2 separate regions of the Homo sapiens genome follow, and region 2 is linked to region 1. The links are contacts of gene promoters, found by promoter capture Hi-C in blood cells and fetal thymus (Javierre and others, 2016). All regions are on one chromosome and are shown on one strand. Each heading gives the region's core, a stretch centred on a gene start or on the middle of the fragment in contact. The rest is flanking DNA. Distances are from core to core; before and after follow the strand shown. Region 1 holds the start of KRT73 (keratin 73). Region 2 holds the start of KRT5 (keratin 5).

Region 1 (6,459 bases), core at 1,355-3,854:
GCCAAGGAGGGGATCACCTGCCAGGACAGCCCTGACGCTGCCCAAGAGGCTGGTTGTCCACTGTCTAGTCTGCCTCGTTGCCCATAGAAGGCTCTCATCTTGCTGGGACAGATGAACCCAATACCTCCAAGGCCAGAGGCAAACATCCCAGTGCCTGCTGGGAAAGCCTCACCCTGGGAGGCAGACCAGCCTGGAGTGGCGTCCTGCTCACCTCTTCTTGTAGTCCTCCACCACTTCGCGCACGCTCCTCAGCTCCGAGTCCAGCCTCACCCTGTCCCCAGACAGCGTCTCCAGCTGCTTCCGCAGGTTGCTGATGTAGCCCTCAAGGATGGGCTCCAGGTTATTCTTGCAGTTGTTCAGGTCCAGCTGCTGTAGCAGCTCCCACTTGGTCTCCAGCACCTGGTTCTGCTGCTCCAGGAACCGCACCTGGAACCCATGCCACACATACTTAAGCAATGTGGAGAGGGGATGTGAGAATTCCCTTCCTGGACAGGAACTGTGTTTTCTTATGCTACATTAGCTTTAAAAATGAGCCTCAGCCCTTAAAAACTGCCACCCATGCCACTCACACCCCCACTCCTTACCTAGGGTCCTTTATCTGACTGAAGTTCTCACTCTGAGGCAGCCCTTAAGGTTGGGAGGGGCACCAATGTCTTCATTTCCCTCTCAAACTATCAAGATCTAGATCTCCTGTCTCCTCTGCACTTATCCAAACCTGCCTGGACCGATGTCCATGTTCAGTCCAGGCCACCTCTCCAAGGCAGCCCCTTAGACACAAGCTGGCCTGTGCTAGCCTTCACACTGTCAGGCCTTCTGCTCGGGGTCTGGTGGCCCGTGCTCTGCCTAGTCTCTCCCTCCTTGTGCGTGGGCTCTCCCAGCCCAGCCAGAGGCAGATGTTCAGCTTATCTGGGGTCTCCGGCCCTCCTAAGTTGCTTTCATGTCTGAATCTCTACTATCTCAATCACAGCATTGTCCCAGCAGCAGAACAAGCATTCTCAAGTTGCAACCTACAAATATATCATTCCCTTGCTTAAAACCCTCAGGTGGTTCCACATCACCCTCAGGGTCAAGTCCATATTCCTTATCACACTCTTCATAATGTGCCCAGCCCTCCTGGCTTCCTTCTTTACTCATACAGTGATGTCGTAAACCGAAGGTCTCCCATTCCCCAGACAAGTTCTACCATGCTGCACGTGCTGTCTCCCTAGATTGCCTTTTCCCCACCTCCATCTGAAAACTCCTACTCATGCCTCACCACCCTACCTCACTGTCGCTCCGGGTGAGCTTCCCCTGCTCCTCTAAGCTTAGGAAGTCTCTGCTTCCCAATACCTTCCTACCACTTTGTTCCTCAGTGATTCTCAAACCTGAGTGTACATCAGCATCACCTGGAGAGCTTGTTAAAATGCAGGGTGCTGGGCCCTGCTGCAGAGTCTCTGATTCAGTTGCTCTGGGGTGGAGCCTGAGAGTGTGCATTCTAACAAGCGTCCAGGTGACGTTGCTGCTGCTGGTTCCAGGGCCACCTTTGAGAACCACTGCTCTAGGGCACCGTGACCTCCAGCTGCCTTGCCTCATAGGCTGTGTGTGTTACGGACTGAGTCTGAGCTTTCAGGGGACACAGGAGGAACAGCTGGGTCGCATGGCAGTCTAGATGCCCCAGGCTGTCAAGGGCATCTCCTTCGCCTAGCTTCTAAGTCTCACAGGCTGTCACTCTGCTACTTCTCAACTCAGAGACCGCTCTCATTGCTTCCTGGACACCTTCCTGGGCTAGGCTGCTGGCTCCTCTCACCCCTCCAACCCTGGTCCCTTGCCTCTGATGTCCAGGCTTTGTCCAGTTCCTCCCTGGGCTATGTCTGCATCCTGGGGAGGTGTCCTGCCTTCGTCTGCTTCAGACAGGGAGCACCCCAAGGACAATGAAGGCGGGGGAAGGAAGGGGCTCTACGGCATGAGCAAGCCTTATGGGCCCAGCACCTGGGGAGCTTTCAAGTTGTTTACCTGGTGTCTGATTTTGCTGGGAGAAAATGATTTCTTGCTCTCAGGCAAATTGAACCACAAATTAGGGCAGTGGCTCCCTCCTGAGTCCTTAAAAGGGGAGCCCAAGATCAGCTTTCTCCAGAAAGACCCACCTTGTCAATGAAGGAGGCGAACTTGTTGTTCAGCACCTTGATCTGCTCCCGCTCCTGGGCACGCACTTTCTGGATTTCAGGGTCCAGCTCCACGTTCAGGGGTGCCAGGAGGCTCTTGTTGATGGTGACCTGATGGATACCCCCGGGCGGGCACAACGACGGACACACGGACCCCAAGGCCACACTGCCAAACATGCTGCCAGCAAAGCCACTGGCCCGGCCCCGGCCAAATCCATAGCCTCCTGCCCACCCACTGCCACTGGCCACATTGAAAGAGATGCTCCGGGCACCCCCCAGGCTGTAAAGGCTCCGACTGCTGAAGCCTCCACTGAGCCCTTTGCCCCCTGCTCGGTAGGAGGATGAGCTGCCCCCTGAGAGCACAGCGGAGCAGCCGCTGAAGCCCCCCTTGGCAGCAGCTCCCGACTTGTAGGTGAATTGGCGGCTCATGGTGGGGAGGCCAGAAAGTGGGGATAAGATGCTGACCCTTAGCTGAGATGCAGTTCACCAGCCTGTGATCCTGGGCTCCCACTTTATAGGACTCAAGAGGGAGCCATGGGCCTAATTTGTGGGTTCAGTTTGCCTGGAAGCAAGAAATCATTTTCTCCCAGCAAAATCAGACACCAGGTAAATGACTTGAAAACTCCCAAAGTGCTAGTCTTGCAAGTCTTGCTCATGTAATTTGAGTTTTATCTAATGAACATGTGTAATTAGCATGGGCACATTATCCATAGAAAGATCTTAGGTGGGAGGTTTGTCGCAGTCTCAATTGCTGTTCCCCAGGGAGTGGTGGGGCCTGGGATTGTAGGGGTACAGAGGGGAGACCTTTAATTGACAGTGTCATCTGTTAGAAATCTCACAACCATGCCAGCATCAGATGGGCTGCTTCAGGGACCCTGGCTGAGCTGCTTTTATGTGGTTAAGAAGAGGCTGCTGCTGCCTGGCTTCCCAGAGTTCCTGGAGACAGGTTTGATGGCTGGCCAGGGCCATAGGAGAGGAGCACACTGGGAATCCAGGACCAGCCTCTGGCTGCCAGCCCCCTGCTGTGCCCTCCCAGGCAGCTCTCCTGCTCCTCTGTGCCAGCCGGGCTGCCCTGCTCACCTTCCTTTGCACACACTGACTTCTTTTTCCCTTTACCATCCCACTACCCTGACTCTTGACCTTGAAATTATGGTCATTGCACCATTCACGATGGCTGACACTGGTGCAGCACTTTACAGTGTAACAGAGCTCCTCACACAAGAAGCTCATTTAATCCACTTAGTCTGCATGGAGGGGAATGGTGATGATCCACATTACACAAATGGGGAAACCAAGGTTCAGATAATTGAGGATGTCATTCCTTTAGCAAACATTTAGTGAGTCCTTTCTTTGTGTGAATCCCAGAGAATGAAAATGCCCCCAAAAAGCACAGGCCCCAGCCTTGAGGACTCCCTTGGCTGGTCTTCTGACTCCACATTCAGAGCTATGCCCGCCTTATTCATTCGTCCATCTATCCGTCCAACCAGCCAGCCAGCCATCTACTTGTTCATTCATTTATCCATTCGTTTAACAGACTTCTCTTGAGGGCTGACTCTCTCCCAGGTACTGTGCTAGGCTCTTGGGTCCCGAATTATGAAGACCAAACCTAGCTCACAATTTTGGAGATGGGGAGGTAGGGGAAGACATTTGAATTTCATGGATCCTTGACATTGCCAAAGTATGTGACCCAAGAGTTTCCCAAATCCCAAATCCCAAATATATCCATAGTATAGAATTTCCTCCATAAAAACACAAGTATTTCACTAGCTGGAGTACTTGAATGAACAGTTGGCCCATCCTTCTTTTCTATTTCTGTATAGAGGTTATGATATGCCTCTAAAATTGTTGTACTAAGCAATTGCCAAATTCAACCTCCCCTCTGTTTTATACAATATGGTTGTTTTCTAGTTAAGAATAATCATTTTCTTTGATGTCTTCAATTTCACTAAAGGCAATGCCACTTGGAAGTCCTTTAATCTTTTTTAGCTAACATGAAGTTCTATTCCTTTTTTTCTTTTTTTTTTTTTTTTTTTTTGAGATGGCGTTTCACTCTTCTTGCCCAGGCTGGAGTGCAATAGCATGATCTCGGCTCATCGCAACCTCCACTTCCTGGGTTCAAGGGATTCTCCTGCCTCAGCCTCCTGAGTAGCTGGGATGCAACACCACGCCCGGCTAATTTTGTATTTCTAGTAGAAATGGGGTTTCTCCATATTGGTCAGGCTGGTCTCGGTCTCCCAACCTCAGGTGATCTGCCCGCCTCAGTCTCTCGAAGTGCTGGGATTACAGGCGTGAGCCACCGCACCTGACCCAAAGTTTCTATTCCTTTGTAAGTTTCTTTGTAAGGCACAAAGAAGACCAACAAAACTGCATTGTGATGAGAATGCTTAGTATTCCAGCCAGAATCACTCCCTAATTGGCTCATTTCAGCACACCAGCACTGGGGTGGAGGTGATTCAGGCCTGCATCTCAGCAAAACTACAAATTGCTGCATGTCACAGGCCCTGAGATAACCCCCAATGGCATTTATGCTGTGAATGCCAACTCTGCAGTATGGCGTGGATGTGCTTACGAGCAAACAGCCCCTCTCCTTATGGTTTTCACTTCCCCTCCCCTCCCTGGCCTTCTCATCTTGTGAACCTGCCACAGAGGCACTTCCGGAAACCTTCTCTGATCACTTTCCTAATCCAATCACACCTCTCTTCCCAGCCTCCCACATGTTGTTTGTTGTCCAAACAACAGCATCTATTATGTCAATTGTCTCTTCTAATTTGATGTCTCTACCTGTGTTCAGGAGGTATGTCAATCTTTCCTAACGGCCAGAAATTTTCCTGAGGACAAGATCCAGGTCCTATCCTCCCTTTGGTCCTCTCTACTCACTTCCCAGAACTCCAGTGGCAAAGGACTCTCAGGCAGTCATGGACTAGGCTAAAAAACTCTTAGGTGCCCTTTGAAATCATTCTCCCTAAGAACAGTATCCCTAGCACCTGTCATTGAAATGCCTCTAAGTGGGTTTTCACACAGTGAGCTCCTTATATTTCACATCCCTTATATTGCCCTCACCAGGGGAAACTCAATGCCAGATGAACCCAATTACCAAGTCAGCCCCACTTCCCACAGTGGGGCTGTCCTGCCATTAGCCTCTGCCCAGACACTAGGGCAAGAGTTTCTGATGGTTTCAGAAAAGAGAGAAAGAAAGGGGGGGGGGGGGAGAGAGAAAGAGAGAGAGAGACAGGCAGGAAATCAACTTTCTGTCACCCCCAGGGGCAATCAAATAAATATTGTGAAATCAGTATTCCCTATGTGGATATTCCACAACTAGAAAGATGAAGTAGACATACTTTTCCCTTCTTCACAAACATAAGAAGACTCTGAAGCGTAGAGAAGAAGGCACACCAACAGGGACCTCAGGACCCAGTGAAAGACATGATGATTATTTCTCTAGGTTTTCTATTTGTCTCCTATATTCCAGACTTGGGGCAGAAGAAGGCAGGAATCTGGAAAGGCTCAGATTTTTAAAGATTAAACAAAAGCTTGATCTCTGTAGCCACATCATCAGGAAAGGGGCAGCCTAGCAAGATGGAAAACTTACAGAGAATAATCACTCTATTCCATCTCAACACACAGAAAATACTATGGTTTCACCTACACCCACATCAGCAAAAGCTGAGTGTGAGGCCTAGACCTTCACACTCACCAGGCTATAATGAGGTGCCCCAACTGCCCCCTCCCCCAGCAGTTAGATGGAATCAGGGAAGTCCAAGAAAGAAGCCGGGATTCCATCCCCACCAGGAGGTAACAAGTGCCTGACCCACTTGGTACCAGTGGAGACCATGTGGGGAGCCCAGACTTCCACCCTCACCTGGCAATAACAAGGTAGCATCCACACCCTTTCCCCTGCAAGGACAATGTCAGAAGAAGGCAGCCAAAACAGAAGATTTAAACAATATCCAGAATCTCATAATAGTACCAAAATGTCCAAATGTTTATTTAAAAAATCACTCATTGTGCCAAGAACAAGGAAGTCCTCAAATTGAATGAAAAAAAAAGACGATTGATAGATGCCAATACTTAGATGACAAAGTTGTTAAAATTATCTGACAAAGATTTCAAAGCAGCCACAATAAACATGCTTAAATGAACAACTAAGAACATGCTAAATAGATGACAAATTAGACAGTTTCAACAAAGAAATTTAAAAACCAGAAGAACTAAATGAAAGTTTTATTTATTTTTTATTTTTTTATAAACATCCCCAACTTGCTTGTTTTATTGGAGAAGAGGACATGGAATAAACATCTGGGATGTGAGTCTGGGAAGA
Region 2 (6,459 bases), core at 1-2,500, 98 kb before region 1:
TGCTCCAGGAACCGCACCTGGAGGGGAGCAGGGTTTGAAGATAGAGAAACTTGGATTTCATGTTCTATGATCAACTCACTAAGGTGCCTCCCACCTCTTTCCGTCCCTCTAAAGCTTTTCTGTGCACTGTGCCTGGCCCTGGGCCCCAGGAGGGGAGGTGCAGACTGAGGCACCCAAACTCACTTTTCCAGGGGGAGATAGGACACCTATCCAGGGCACAGAAAGCACTAGGAGTGCTGCTTGGAGTGTGTCCCGGCTCAGGGGTGGCTGCAAAGGCACTCAGGCTGCTGCCCATGCACTTGTCTACCTTCCTGTACAGTCAGCCCCTTTATATATGGCATGAAATTCATCTCTCTGTCCAACAGTTGTTAAGAGGCCCTTGTGAGCTAACCTCTGAATGGGAAGAAATAATTCTCCCTTCCCAGCTGCCAGTCTAATTCAGAACGTGTCCACAAATCCAGGGCACAGAAACAAACGGAAACACAGAACTGTACAACTATAAAAGTATTTGCACAAAGCCAAAACATCTTCCTTCTTTCTCTCTCTTTGGCATTTATTTCAGACCCACAGTGATTTTTTACAAAAGATCGTAGCTCACCTTGTCGATGAAGGAGGCAAACTTATTGTTGAGGGTCTTGATCTGCTCGCGCTCCTCGGTCCTCACCCTCTGGATGCTGGGGTCGATTTGCAGGTTGAGGGGAGTCAGGAGACTCTGGTTGACAGTGACCTCTTGGATACCTCCAGGAGGGCAGACAGGAAAGCCAGGGCCACCGAAGCCACCTCCAAAGCCAGCTCCGCCACCGAGCCCAAAGCCACCACCAGCTCCACCGCCGAAACCAAATCCACTACCGGCACCACCTCCAAAGCCATAGCCGCCTCCAGCACCAGCACCAAACCGGTTCCTGAAGCTGCCACCACTAGTGCTGATGGATATCCTCTTGGAGCCCCCCAGGTTGTAGAGGCTCCGGCTGCCATAGCCACCCACTCCACAAGCACCCGCAAGGCTGACCCTGCCGAAGCCACCACCACCGCCACCCCCGGACCGGGACACGGAGGTGAAGCTGGTGCGGGAGACAGACGGGGTGATGGCAGAGGCGGTGCTGAAGCTACGACTGCCCCCGCTCCGGAAGGACACACTTGACTGGCGAGACATGGTGGCTTGTTCCTGGTGGAGCAAGAGAACCAGGCACTAGTGGGTTGGGAGGTGCTGGAGAGAACAGAGCTCAGCAGGACGCAGAAGGTGGCTCTGTTACCCAGGAACGGTGATGCCCCCTTTTTATCCCTTCCAGAACTGGGCTGGGCGAGAGAGCTGTCGAGCTGTGAATGATTAAGTGGGCTGGGCATGCCTGGGGGGCAGCTGTGAGCTCACCGGTCACACCTGCACAGTGGTGTGGGGTGCAAACGCTTTCTTCCTGGCAGGCTCTGCTCAGTTAGAAATAACCTTGCCTTGCAGCACTGATCTCTTGGCAGCAAGTTGGTGACGCTGCTAGCAAGTATGTCTTCACCATAGAGGCTGGGGGCTGTGAGCAGCCCAAAAAGGATGCCAGGAACTGAGGGGGCATTGGCATGGCCAGTGTCCTGGGGACTCTTACAGGACCAGGAGTATTGACAACCATCCCAGTACGGTACATGCTGAGCACCTGCCCTTCCAGCTTGGGGAAGCTGTCCATCAGCGGGGGGCAAACGATTCCCCAGTGATCTGCTCTTACACTTTTCCAGGCAGCAGGTTGCTGCAGGGTTTTCCCCTCTGGGAAAGGCAATCTGTAGCCTTATATTCTTGGTTATGTGCTAGAGGGAAAATAGAGTTTCATCCTTTTCTGCACAATTTTTTTCTTAGGGAAGGCACAGCTATCCCAGAGCCCACTGGGCAGATCTGCCTGCAAGGTTTAGGCCAGAGAATGTGGGAAGCCCTCAGCGCCCCCTATAAACCACTTTGACCTCTTTAAGGCCAGGTTTATCCTTCCATAGCTCCTCCTAACTCAGCATTTTTTCTGCCCTTTGACCTTTTCCTTGCTCTTTGGCCTGGGCAGGACTCTGTGGGGGGTTTAGGAAACCCGGGGATCCCATGCAATCCCTTAAAAAAAAACCCTGAGACTCATGGGCTATAGCGTCTCTCTTTGGGGGTAGCTACTCTGCCGGTTCCCCAGCCCCCCAGGTGTGTTCCAGCAAGCTCTATTCCACTAGGGAAGAAATGAGTCATCGTATGTGTTGATACAGGCTGAAGGCCGCCACAAACACATACCTGCAGGAGCTTCTAATCTCATCAGGAACATGTTGAGAGTCTGACGGCCTGTTATAACGGCGAACCACCCTGTTCCAAGCAGCGGGACTTGCTCTGCTTTCTCTATGCTGTAGCCCACAGCCTCCTTCAGGGCCAAGGCAATGGAAAACGGGATTCTAAGTCTATGGATTGTCCTGCCAGAAAGGCTAGCCAGAGCAGGCCTGTGGGCCCAGGCAGCTGGCATGACAATCTGCCAGCTGCTTTAGGGAGGGCCCTTTGAGATCCCCTCTGCAAAACTTGTCTGGGGGGTTGTGGCACCAGGTGGAGGAAAGGGGGTTTCTGATGAGGTTTTAACACACGTCTGTTCTAAACCACACCCACTCTTTTTGGCAGCAGATCTGAGTGGGGCCACCTCTCTGCCGTCCCCCAAATAGAAGCAGGGCTCTCAGGCAGGACAGTGCTTGGGCTGTTCAGAGTTTCGGGGGCGCCCTGTGGCCCGAGGCTGGAGGTAGGAATGCAATGGGGATGGCTTCAAAGCCTCAGGGAGGAGGGGCTATATTCTCAAGAGTAGAAGAACAGGACCAGACCCAGGCTCAGGAATCTCTCACCAGGGCCTGCGGTTGGCCACAAGGAAGCCAAGGCAGTGGGAAAATGACTCCCTGGTGCTGAGGATCAGCTGAAACAGTGACTTCTCACCAGAGGGCTGCGATGAGCAAGCAGCTGACAGGTCAATCTCGGCAGACAGACCAATGGCCGGAGCCGGTCTTACAGGTCTTGAGCAAAATGGTTTGGGTGGCCTCCCTGGCTGGAGCATTTCTGAGACCCTCAGAGATGAATTGTGCTGAGCTCACCATTTTCACATTTGGTTGCTTTCTGGAGAACAGATGTGAGTGTCCTGGAGGCCTGAGACATACCAGGGGACCCTCGGCTCCTGATAGAACAGAACAGATCCAAGCCTGAAGCAAGTGTCTGAGGACTCGTAGTGGGATGCTCCTGCTCCACTCAAAGATCGATATCGGGGTATATCCCCACCACCACATACACTCACAGGTCCCGGGTACAGACCTCACTGCCCTCAGGGAAGCCCCACCCCTCCTGAGACACTGGGACATTCTCTTCTCCCCATTCATTCTCCTCCCAGCTGTGTTGTGAAGAAAGAGGACTTGGCAGAGCAGGAATGCGTTCTGGCTAGTCTGAGGATTGCTAGAGTGTGCCAAGCTCAGATCCATGTGCCAGGGACCAACGGTGAGTGTGTGGTGCTCCATGGGAGCAGGGAGCATGTGGGTGCTCCATGGGAGAAGCAGCAGCACTCTTCTATCCGAGCTTCGTGGGAATCCTCCCATGAGCAGGCAGGGCAGCCCCTCCCTCAATGCCAGACCTGGACAGGTATAAATAATGGAGCCGCTCCTGGTGGGGAGCCAGGCACCAGCACCACTGCAGCTCGGGAGAGTCCCACCCCAGCCTGGAATTTCACTGTGGCAGGAAGGGAGGGATTGTGTTAGGCTCACCAGGGAGCTTTCCTGCTGGGCACCCCACAGAGGCAGTTCCCAGGCTTGGTGGGACATGTTGCTCAGCTTCTCCTCTGGGTGCTGCTTTCCTTGTCAGCAGAAGACAGTGCAGGGCCCGCCCTGCTGCTCTCCCCATCAGAGAAAGGACAGTAAGCTGGCTGCCCTGACCTCTCTCGCAGAGCTGTGCAGGGAATGTAGGACCTGGTCAGCATTTCATACATGGAGAAGCCCTTCACAGACACCAGGGAGAGGGTGGTATCCATTCGTGGAACAAGGGTTAGGCAAATCCTGCCATCCCAGCCCAGGATTCCTTCTCCTCAGAGCCTCCACTCCAATCTGTAGGGCTTTAGTAGAAGATACATTTAATAGAGCATGATAAATAGAACATGTTCCATAAAACAGCATTTGTACATATCCTCTAAGTCCCCCCCAGCAGGGCAGTCTCCAAGGTTAGGGAACATCTCTGCATGGCCCACACCCTCAGCCCAGCCTTGGGCACTGGAAGTGTTCTGCAGATATTTTTTGGAGTGAATTGACAGACAGAAAATCCTCTTCCTCCGCTCCTTCCCCAGATTGTTATGTGAAGCCCACAATGGCAAGAACCTCAATTGCTTTTGCACCAACCTATATCTACACCAACCTATGTATAACAGAATGTATATACATTATATATATTCACATATATTTCTGTGAATCCTCCAGCCCTATGCTGAGTCTCAGAGTCTTGTCCATCTGATTTTGTCTCTCAGTCCGTGTCTACAGGATGAGTCTGTTGTCCCCTTCACACTGGGTATGCTCTGTGTTTAGGATTTAGGATTTAATCTAGCATTTAGGATTCTTTATTCCTTAGGCTTCCCTCCATCCTTCTTCTTCCCTCACCCTTATTCTGAGGGTGTTCTGCATCTGAGCCCACTAACAAGTAGCCTGCACGTGCCACCCCAGCCCCCAGGCCCCTCCAGGAGAGAAAGAAAGCTTTAGTGGCCTCAACTTTGCAGCCCTTCCACCTCACGCTTGTTCAGCACAAAAAGTGGGGAGCAATAGTTGAGGTGTGAGTCACCCTATTCATTGGGCTATGGTTGGCAGCCCCATCAGGGAGCCTGCAGCCAGATTCGCAGGATGGGGAAGGGCAGATGGAACAGCGGGCCAGCCCAAGATAGCTCTTCACAAAGCCCTAGCCTCAGGGGGAATTGAGGGAAGAATTTTCCTGCCTCCACCCAAAGCCAGCGGAATCTTGCCCCCATCCCAACCTGGGTCCCAGCTCTGGTCCTAGCTAGATTCTCAGAATCACAGGGCCCTGAGGGGAGTGGCCACTCTGGATCTGCAGAGCTGGACACACCACCCCCTCCCTCCTACAGCCCAATGTCTCTAGGGCTTTCAGACCCCAGTCTGAAAACCGGACTAGGTAGAAAGGCAAATGTCCAGACATAAAGCAACTGCTCAGCCTTGGCTCAGAGGGCCTTTGGAGGTGAGTCCCTGCTGCCATTATTGAGGTCATAGTGACAAGTTACCCCCTGGAGTTGAGTTTTTCTTGTGCACGGGCTTCGCACACATTGTGGGTCACAGCATAGGTGCAAAAGCATGTGGCACCACTCCAGACCATGTGTTGGTCCTGACCCAGTCCTTGGATGGGTCTGGGACCCTGAGCAAGTTGCCTAACCTCTCACTGCATAGTTTTGTCCAGTGCAGCTGGGAGAGAAGGGAGGGGCCTGGGCTCATTGGAGGGGCCATGCAAGCTGGAATTTTAATTTTGAGCTGGCTGGGGCTGAGCAGGAAGGGAGGGGCAGGCCTGCAGGGGGCTGTGGGGAGCAGCCTTGGCCCCCATCCCTTAGATTCAGCAGCCGATTGGCCCTGGCAGGAGAGGGTGCAGAGCAGAGCCCTCCGCTTCCCTCCAGCAGGCCCCTGCAAGTCTGAGGAATGTTCTTCCCTCGTATGAAAGGTGTTTTGCTCATGGCACACCAAACTCTTTGAAAATCCCCCTTGGTTGATTGAAACTATGGGCTGGAAATCAACAAATACTTTAATTAGTCAGAGGGACTAAAAAAGGATATACAGCAAAATCCTCTGCGCTTTGCTTTCTCATAGAGGGTGGTTTTATTTTTTAAATAAACACTTACGTAGGAGTGACCATGTGCCAGGCACTGCCCTGCACACTTTACATATATGAATATGAAACTAGAGCATGCAAAGAAGGGCTCTTAGCACTTCCTCAGCTTGGCTGTCCAATGTAGGTGTCAGTGTGTCCCATACTCTGGGGATTTGCAGCCTCCCTCTTCAGTGGAGAGGCAGAGACATGACTCATTTACACCAGGTTGTATCCCTGCAGCATCAGAGGTGCAGAAGGAAGCTTGCTGACATCCCCAACTCACCCACTGTTCCATTTCTCCCTGCTACTTTCTGTTCTCTCACCAGTAGCCACAACTGGGAACGGGGAGGCAGAGGAGACGCTACAGCTGCCCCCCTCCCCAAGTTTGTGTTTGGCTCAGGGCTTCCTGGTCCTGGGAGGGAGGGCAAGTGCCGGAGACAGAGCCTTATTCCATCTGGCTTTCCTGCTTTGGGTGAGCACTGATCATGGGTGGGGGGAAGGTGGGGTGAGTCAGGTGAGCTCTGATCATGGGTGGAGGGCAGGTGGGGTGAATCAGTACAGAAGGTGGTAATATGGTGAGGGAGAAAAGAAAGTAAATGACAGCATTGAGGCTGGAGCTGTTGCCTCTCCCAGGGCCACCCTCAGGA

Evidence for each region. The method cuts DNA at HindIII sites, captures the fragments that hold promoters and counts their contacts. A CHiCAGO score of 5 or more calls a contact.
Region 2: a contact is called between the fragment with the promoter of KRT5 here and the fragment with the promoter of KRT73 in region 1, in 1 of 17 cell types (neutrophils). The highest score is 6.2, in neutrophils.

The regions. Positions count from the first base shown.
Region 1 is chr12:52,615,955-52,622,413 of GRCh38, forward strand. It overlaps KRT73 (keratin 73), which reads right to left and starts at 2,605. Exons shown (of 9, transcript NM_175068.3): 1 at 2,124-2,605; 2 at 212-426. The coding sequence starts at 2,570. The HindIII fragment of the contact is 4,368 bases long and covers 1,302-5,669 here.
Region 2 is chr12:52,519,144-52,525,602 of GRCh38, forward strand. KRT5 (keratin 5) reads right to left here and starts at 1,251. Exons shown (of 9, transcript NM_000424.4): 1 at 599-1,251; 2 at 1-17. The coding sequence starts at 1,153. RefSeq lists enhancers at 1-338, 3,158-4,123. The HindIII fragment of the contact is 4,587 bases long and covers 113-4,699 here.